Regions from separate parts of the Homo sapiens genome. Here region 2 is linked to region 1. Evidence: promoter capture Hi-C in human tissues and cell types (Jung and others, 2019). All regions are on one chromosome and are shown on one strand. Each heading gives the region's core, a stretch centred on a gene start or on the middle of the fragment in contact. The rest is flanking DNA. Distances are from core to core; before and after follow the strand shown.

Region 1 (4,708 bases), core at 744-3,243:
ATGAAAATAGCAGAAGTGGGACCCAGAAGATGAACTCTTTTACATTTGATTATTCAGATTATATGTAAGTTCCCATCCTGCTGAAATCTCTTCAGCAGCAAGTTAACCTCCAACCTAAGAAAGATGGAAGAAATCAAGAGTTGAAGATGGAGGGGACAGGGACAGTCTCTGTATCTGTGTGCTCCCTGAGGTGGGGGCCCCTGCCTCTCCCATCTTTGCACTCCTCATGCCTACTGTGTACCTGGTGCAGACCAGCTGCCCTGAAATGTTTGAGGTGCTGTGTTACCATTGCCTCTTTTGATTGCCCACCGAGTGCCTCCTGAGTCATGCACCCCATCACAGCCCTCACGCAAGGCCTGGAGACAAACCCAGCACACACCGGCCTAGTATTAATTCATAACCATCATCATGTACCTAAGATTCTACCTACCTGGATGTTGATTGATGAAATTTATAAAGTATTAGAAGGACTTCAAATCGACTTACAACTATCACATATGAAATGCACAAAACCAGCTTTTAAAGCCTTCTATAATTTGTTTAAGACTGAAGAACTTTAAGACCATTACTTTTATTTATTTATTTGTTTGTTTGTTTGTTTGTTTGTTTGTTTTTTGAGGGACAGAGTCTCGCTCTGTCACCCAGCCTGGAGTGCAGTGGCACAATCTCGGCTCACTGCAAGCTCTGCCTCCCGGGTTCACACCATTCTCCTGCCTCAGCCTCCCAAGTAGCTGGGACTACAAGTGCCCGCCACCACGACTGGCTAATTTTTTGTATTTCTAGTAGAGATGGGGTTTCACTGTGTTAGCCAGGATAGTATCAATCTCCTGACCTTGTGATCTCCTCGCCTCGGCCTCCCAAAGTGCTGAGATTACAGGCATGAGCCACTGCACCCGGCCCTAGACCATTACTTTTAAAATGTAAAAAAAAAAAAAAAAAAAAAAAAAAAAAAAAAAAAAAAATGGAAAAAGGAAAAGGAAATAAAGAAGCAGCAGTGGGGATCAAGACAGAGGAAGGAGATGCTACCTGCCTGCTCCCATCCATCTCCTCTTCACAGTCAGAAACACTAAGAGGAACCCTGTGCTACAGGAGAAGACATTCCAGAAATTTTGTCTTAGGACTTTAACCTTTCCGATATATGACTGGGTCATAAACTTCCTTTTCAGAAGCTATTGATCACCCCATCACCTCTGCAAATGGGGTGTCTATAAATGCCATCTGTTGCCTGCACATTGGCTACTGGTTCATGAATGGTTAAATTTGTTGCAACTTTTGCTTCTGTCCTGTAATGAAGGAAAAGAAACTTTCTTCTAGGAGTGCAGTATCAAATTTGTCTGGGTAGGTTGAGTTTGTAGGTGTTGCAGGTGCACCTAGGCTTAAAGCATTTGGAGGTATCCTTGCATCTGTGTTAAGAGGCTCTCTCTGTAGGGGAGAGATCATTGACTCATTGGCCTGTATACTGATGTAATGTCAAGGGGAGGGCCCAGTACCTTTTCTGAAAGGGGCAGCTCTTCCTCAGATTGGGAATTGGAATTGGGAGGTTGTCTTGGCCAGAACTGAGAAAGAAAGAGCTCTGGATTGACGTCTCATCTTAAACTTCGTAGAATCTGGATTTGAGAGACAGAGCACTCACAGGAGATTGGGGCAAAAGAGTGCTTTGTAGGACCATACCTGTGCAGTGATACGTCTCTCTCATAACCCAAAGTTAAAGACCCATAAACTCACTGTGGTAAGTGCTTTCTTCTGCAGCAAATTCCCCTTGAATATCCGTCCCATTCCTGCAGAGTCTTGTTTAAATGTTCCCAGCTGTGCTATAGGGAATCGGGGAGGAGCTGTGGACACATACTGGTCCATGTGGGGGCTGCGGCGGTGACCAGTGAGAGGTCTCCTTGATGACAGCGACTCTGAGGACACAGAGCTGGTGCTATAAGACCTGGTAACTAAGTTCCCAAGGAGCTTTTCTCTTCTTTGCCAACCTTGAAGATCTGGGTATTATTTTATGAAGCTGGATGGAATCTTCCCACATGTAGAGTTCTCAGGTCCAGGTATTATTTTATGAAGTCGGATGGAATCTTCCCGCACATGGAGTTCTGAGGTTTCTCAGGTTGCTCTCTGGCTCAGTGATGCTGTGTGAGAATGTTCAACCATATCTCCACAGCACAAGCTTTGGATCTGATGTCAAGAAGCTTTTGTGAATATTAAAAATGAACCGCATCTCCCTGAATCAAAATAAATACTACTATATGCACTTCAATGGAAATAAAATCTGGGATTCTTTTTGGGCCCTAAGCAAAATGTAGAAATTCATTTTCCCATCAGACTTTTCAGTAACTTTCTTTTAACCTAATGAGACACTCCACAGGAGACTAACATTTCTTTCGCTGAATTCCAAGTGTAGGTTTCCTGGGTTGTCCATTTAATTGTTAAAGTGAGAGAGATTCTGCTGGAAGACAAGCACCATGGAACAGCAGGAGGAAAGCTGAATGGAGGTTACTTGGGAGCTACCCCAGGAAGAAGCGCTGTGCAGACCATCATCGCAGGGTGGAGAGTAGCCATGAGACGTGTGTGGTGGCCTCTGGATGCTGCTGTGCTGCCTCATGGGAATTTTCACAGATCTTCCACTGTTTGTAAATGGTGCCCAATGAGCGGAAAATTAAGTGGTACTTAACACACACACGTTCACCAAATACTTGCAGCGTTATCCCCATAGTGTGGATGGCTTTTGACAAGGTGCCTGATGAAGAGAGATGCACATAGTTGTGAGTCCCAGCCTACAGAAGCTCATGATGGGTGCTCCACAGTGTTGGTGTTGAGTAAAAATGCCCAGGACAGTATGCACTGTGCTTGACGCACAGTATGACTAAGAAAATACCTGTTATTATGTGAACAGTGACCATATGCACAGCATACAAATCAGTAGCCCAGTGCTGTTCTGATGGTCTTGTCCTGAGTGGTTTTTCCCATCTAGTTGGAGACAAGACTCATTCTCTAGAAAGAAGAGCAAAAAATGGTGGGTCCCACCAAGGCCATGGACAAGGGAAAGGCAGAAACGTGCAGAGGGAGCAGAGACAGAGGAGGCTTGAGACCTGTGTGGAGGGACAGGAAGGGAGCTCGGAAGCCCGTTTTGTAGCAGATCCCAAATTGTGAAAGTTGATAGTTGTGGAGCACACATATGCAGAGTAACATCTAGAATTCTCAGAGTTGGTGATTTAAAGAAAAGAGAAAAAAAAAACACTGACTAAAAATTAATCTTCAATTTCCCACAGGCCTTAAACTTCCAGCTGCTAAAAGACAGTGGGGTGTAGGGGGTGGAAAGAGACCTCATCTAGGAGGGACAGCTTGGTCTATGACAGTTGAGACAGGTGCCAAGGAGGGACGAAGTTGCTCTCTGCCAACTAGACTTAGGGGAAAAAACAACCATAATCATGTTTATTTTCATGATAAGCATATGCAAATCAGGCCACTACAATCTGTAAACATGGTAATTCCTCTTTATGGATAAGTTCAACTTAAAAGTTGTGAACAAGAGCAAAAGGATATAGTTTTCTAGTTTTCTAATGAGCTCAGAGTTTATGCCCAGTTATAGTTGAGCTCTGGAATGGTTTTTCTAGCTCTTCCTGTCCTTCTGTAGTTCTGGTAGAGAACCTATGAGGACCAGAAACAGAGCAAAGGCGGTTTAAATCCTGGCTGAACCGATTGCCCTCCACATGACCTAGGACAATTGACCCAACCTTTGTAGGCCTCAGTTTCCTTTCCTACAAAATAGGCAGGATAACCAGGAGGTCAAAGTGAAGTGACAAGATGTGAACCTGCTCTGTAAGATAATAAGCACTATTTGCTGGGAAGGGATTGCGGCTTCTTAGCTGTCCTTTAAGTGTGGTTGTCTGTGGATTAAGGAAGGAAAACTGGGTGTTAATTCTAAACAGCCCTCTGAATCAACTGGGGCTGAAGACCTGGGTGAGGGTAATCTATAGTCTGTGGATGTTAGGTGGTTAACTTCAAATAATTAGGAACAACACTGAAATATTTGACCATATCTAGTGCATCTGCTGAAAATTCTTTTTGAAAACTTAAACCCTGTAGTAGATTAAACCAGCCTTGGGCTACAGCCTGAAGCATGTGCCAATGAACCGTAGGCCTGCTAAGACCAGGAGAAGTACCAGGTGATAGAAAACAAAATGAATTTGGTGAATCTTACCTTCCCCACCCCTCCCTCCTTTTCCTCCCTTCCCTCATTTGAGGTTTAGATGTCCTGTTTCCTATAAACTCTCACATGCCCTGGTTTTTGACTAACGCATTTGTGATTAGACGAGGACATGGATAACTAATGAGAAGCCTCGTCACCCACGCAGCAGAGGAGCAGTGGAGAGATCACTCCTGAGTGTGCGTGCTGTGCTTAGCATAGCAGTGCGGCTCATAACCGTATGGGGGTGTTTAACAATGCCACTTGGTGATTTTTATGATGTCATGCCACAGTCTTCTTATGTCAGTTGGGCTCCTCCCACACCTATTATGAGGCATGAGAATGAAAGATCCCGCAGTTTATGGGCTGAGTCACAGTAGATGATTTGTAGGATTAAGATTAATCAGTGGCCTCTGATTAGAGTCTTAGTTAAATGAATCTGCTCCCTCCATGGGTCTTCGGTATTTAGAGACTTGGTCCAGGTTATCCTGTTAACCCGCTTTATTAGAGAATCTTATTGCTTTT
Region 2 (4,708 bases), core at 781-3,280, 67 kb before region 1:
CCCATCTCTACCAGCATGTCTCTGTTGTCATGATGATGCCGAGTTGAAGGACCATTCCAGGAACGCATGATTCATGACCTTCATTTGGTATTAAGCTTCTGCACATACAGTTTTCCAGAAGCGAACTGTGACATCTAGAGTTCATGAGTGGATGGTTGGTGGGAGAGCCACAGTGTCATGGGCTTTTCTCTTGGCTTTGAACTTCCTCTTATGCCTGTGCCAGACTCTGAGTCTGGCCTCATGTCCACTGGCTTTGTTTCCCATTTTCCAGCTCCTTGGATAAGAGGGCACTGTTTGACTCTGTCCTGCCAAGGTAGCAGAAGTCAGGGGCAGCTTTCAAGGTTTCAATGCCAATGAAGACTTCAGTGGCAAGGTGGCCTTCGCTGGATGTGAATCACACAGGACCCAGGCTTTTAGGATGATGAATAGCTACAGCATGGCCCTCATAGGAAATGTGACTCAGTCGCTGGCGGAATTCTTGGGCGAGGGGGAAAGGTGTCTTGGGATCAGGAGCACATTCCAATGCCGGCTCTGGCTCATAGGACGCTAGAGTGGAGAGACATTAGGGGGTATGTAGCTCAAGTGTCTGATTTTATAGATAAAGAGGAAGAGAGCTGGCGAGCTGGAGGGGCTTCCCTGAGGGCACAAAACCAGGGCTGGAACCAAATTTTTTTGACATCCTGTCCTGTGTTCTCAATATGGCATGTGGAAGCTTGCTGCTTCCTCATTAAATCAAATCCTTTGATGTTGATTGTTCTGAGGTTAAGAAGTTTTGTCTCTGCAGCTGAACTATAAGCTTTATGAGGATAGGGACTTTTTTAGTGTTCTTTAGCATCCTGAAGAAATTTACAGTACAGCTAGGGAAGAGAAAACTAACACATACAAAATCAATAAAGAATCATTGTATACTAAACCAAGTGTTGAGTAGAATGGGGATTCAGAGGAAGGAGATATTTGTACGCACTCAAATAATTGGAAAAACTTAGAATCAGATTTGTCTTAAGAAGTGGAAGGGAAGTAAGAAGATGTCCTAGTAAGGGAGTGCACCTCTGAAGGCTTGAAGACTGGGAGGGGAGTGGAAGTGAGACAACACGCTGGAAACAGAGACCTCCCCAAGGAAACTGTGGGAGACAAGGTTGGAAGGTTAGGGTGGCTCAGGCTGTTAGGTGCCATGGAAGCCAGGCTGAGGGGTCTGTGGCAACTGAGGAGCTTCTGGGAGCTTTTGAGCTGGGGAACAGCAGGTGACACGAGCTGGAGGCAGCATCTGGAGGCAGGTGGAGAGGAAGCAGAGGAGGATGTGAAGAGTGCATTGGGAGCTACACAGAGGGGATTTGTCACAGTGAGGAAGGCTGAGAGCTTGGAGGTCCTCCTTAGATAGCTCTGAGTCCAAATCCAAGCTCCACACTTGCTGGCATGACCTTGGGCGGGGAATATTTTTTCACCTGTCCTCAGTTTACTCTTCTGTAAAATGAGGACAATATAATTTACTCCCAAGGGCTACATGTAATAACATCTATGAAATGCTTAGTTTGGTTCCAAATACGTGGAAAAACACCCAGTCTATGGTGGCCGCATTAGTTTCTTGTGGCTGTTGTAACAAATGATCACAAACTTGAAGGTTGAAAACAATTGAAATGTATTCTCTCCTATTTCTAGAAGCCACTAGTCTGAACTCAGCATCAGTGAGTCGAAATCGAGGGCTGACAGGACCGGATTCCCTCTGGGTGGTCCAGGAAGGAATTCGATTCCTTTCCTTTCCAACACCAAGAGCTGCATTCCTTGTGTTCTGTGGGTCACGGTCACTGCCCCCGTTGTCCAAGCCAGCAGCACAGCCTCTCTGTGAGTCGGCTTCTCTCTGCTTCCATTGCTTGGCTCTGTCTCCTGCGGGCAAAGCCCCTTCTGCCTCCTTCTTGTGATGACACATGCAATTGCATCAGGCCCACCAGCATGGTCCAGGACCACCTCCCTGTGCTACGCTGAGTTCTACAGGTGAGGGCTCTGTTCACAAAGCGCCACACACCTGGCGTCGTAGCACAGGAATTCATTGTCTGACAGCTCTGGGGGTCAGATGTCCCAGATCATGGTGTTGGCAGGGTGGGCTCCTTCTGGAGGATTGGAGGGAGAAGCTGCTCAGACCTTTCTGCTGGCTTCAGGCGGTGGCTGGGGTGGAGGAGGTGAGCAGGTGGAGGAGCTGAGAGGTGGGAGAGGTGGGGGACAGAGAGGGAGTCTAGCAGCACCAGCCCAGAACTTGGGTGATGAGGACAATTAGTCTACATTGGAGGGCCCCATCTCCCGGCAGGACTCCTTCTGTTCTCCAAGGTGGGGGTAGCATTAGCTGAGTGATTTCTTGCGTTTGTCTGAGACTAGAGGGTGTCCTGGCCAGGTTCTCGGGTGTCTGGAATGCTGTCTTCCAGGAGATACTGGGCATGGAGACAAACACGTGTCCATGGCCGCAGGACCAGCTGGCCGTGAGGGGACTGCCTGTGTGGTCTTGCCGCAGTGGGTCCCCGTCCAGGTGGTGCAGAGGGAACGTGGGGCTGAGGTGTCTTCATGGGAGGCCATGTCGGGGGGGCATTCCACGGCCACGCTCTGTCTTCATGTCCTCCAGGCATAAGCAGAATAAACAGATGAACACAGAGAGACTGGGACCAAAGCACTGGTGACAACCCTCTTCCTGATGGTGTCCTGAGTGTGGGAGAGCAGTGACCACCAGTAAGCGTGGGTGTGCGTGCACGTGAGTCACTCACTCATAAGGGACTCTCCGAGTGAGTGTGAGGGTGCGTGAGTGGTTGTGTGTGAGGTGATGAGTGTGTGTGAGTGGTTAAGTGTGTGTGAGTTTGTATGATTTTGTGTGTGTGTGAGGACGTGTGTGTTTGTGTGTGTGGTGATGTGTGTGTGTCTATGTCTGCATGAGTGTGTGTGCATATGTGTGAGTGTGTGTGAGAGAGTCACTCAGACTCTCACGAGCGAGTGTGAGGGTTCATGAGTGGCTGAGTGTGAGTGTGTGAATGGCTGAGTGTGAGGGAGTGTGAGTGTGTGTGAATGGCTGAGTGTGGGTGAGTGTGGCTTGAGTGTGAATGTGAGTGTGTGAATTTGCATATGTGAAGTAATGAGTGCGTGTGAGTGGCTGTGTTTGCATGAGTGTGAGTGTATGGTTATATGTGTTTGTGTATGGGCAAGGTGGTGTGTGTATGAGTGGCTAAGTGTGTCTGGTAAGTGAGTGTGAGTGTGCATGTATGTGAGGGTGTGTGTGAGGTGATGAGTGTCTGAGTGTGTCTGGTAAGTGAGTGTGAGTGTGCATGTATGTAAAGGTGTGTGTGTGAGGTGATGAGTGTCTGAGTGTGTCTGCATGTGAGTGTGTGTGTGTGTTGCAGGGAAGTGGGGGGTCAGAAAGCCTCACTCAGGTAGTGACCCCTCCACGAAGTCAGCAAACGCTCACTTCCCCTGCACCCTGCACACGGGTTGGTGGAACCCATGAATACAGAGGAAATGCACACTTGCACCAAAGAGGAAACCGCCCAAGCCCTCCCTCTGCTCTGTGTGTCTGCGTGTGCAGCTCCCATCCCAGAAAACAGAATCCATCAGCCAGGATGAAGTAAGTTCCAGCCACCAGGAACTCTATAGAGTGGTTCAAAATGGGTAAAACAAGAATATCTCGGAATCACAGAACACCAGCTCCTGTAAGGAGCCACACATTCCTAGAAAGGAGAAAAAACAGTCCTTCTGAAAAAACCCACTTCCAACACCCACATCCCACAGACACAACAAAATAGGAACAGGGGAAAATTCAAGATGGGGGAAAGCCCGGAAAAGCAACACCAGAGAGGGAAGACAAAGAGCAGCGTGACAGTCCACTTGCTGCTGCTCCGGAGTGAACCGTGAGGAATAGTCCTGGGAATTCACGAGCCGCTTTGCCACCTGTGAGAACACCGTGGCTTGGGCTGCTGGAGGAGCTGCTGGGTGCCGAGCAGCACGGCAGCTGGGAGCCTCCATGACCGATGCACCACGGGCCACGTGAGGCCCTGCAAACCCCAGCATGTAAATATACCCAGGTTTATTTACAGCCGTAAGTGCTCAGTATGACTGTCCACATAGAAACATATGCTATAAACACAATACCCAAGAGAGGTAGAATGCTTGGGGAAAAAGGAGAGAAGAAATTCCAACAGCTGGACCCCAGGTAACAAAAGTAAGGGATGGTTTACCCTCTATTTAAAAACCAATGGCATCTTTTTACTAAGAACTCTTTAAAAGAAAAGAAAAGCAAAGGAAAGAAATGCTTTGGGGTTTTGAAGTAAAAATTCATGACCAGGATGCCTTTACTTCCTGTCCCTTCAACCAAGACATCCTTTGCCGGAGTCCTTTATCTGGTGCTTTGTATACATATATTTAATCCTATACAAAAGTGATAGGATGTCAAGAAAGATCTATAATAACACCATTTTTTAATTTCACTTCAAAGACTTGGCAATTTCTGATCCATGTGACATTCACACTCCTTCAGGGTCAAACAACATCTTGCAGCCTTCATAAAATGATTAAATATTTTAAACAGCTCCTGCTTATACCTCCATCGCCCCTCGAGACTGATACTGTTATCGTTTTTGTCAAAGCCAGTTTCCATCCGCATTTGTCATTCCTGCTTGCATTTATGAGTTATCAATCGCCACGTCAAAATGCAAAATAACTGATGTTCTTTGGGCGGTAT

The links. Contacts are between HindIII fragments. The study calls those that stand out against the background at their distance.
Region 2: a fragment that was not itself captured here is called in contact with the fragment with the promoter of SMIM21 in region 1 in 4 of the 25 tissues and cell types used here (H1 embryonic stem cells, adrenal gland, bladder and 1 more).

What each region holds. Positions count from the first base shown.
Region 1 is chr18:75,425,710-75,430,417 of GRCh38, forward strand. SMIM21 (small integral membrane protein 21) reads right to left here and starts at 1,994. Exons shown (of 3, transcript NM_001037331.3): 1 at 1,726-1,994. The coding sequence starts at 1,854. LOC105372200 (a long non-coding RNA gene) reads left to right here. Exons shown (of 4, transcript XR_935636.3): 4 at 1-952. RefSeq lists an enhancer at 4,087-4,708. The HindIII fragment of the contact is 8,486 bases long and covers 1-4,708 here.
Region 2 is chr18:75,358,642-75,363,349 of GRCh38, forward strand. No RefSeq gene overlaps it. Among named protein-coding and RNA genes, the nearest start is that of SMIM21, 67 kb to the right of the region's middle. RefSeq lists enhancers at 1,473-2,014, 2,015-2,555. The HindIII fragment of the contact is 7,469 bases long and covers 1-4,708 here.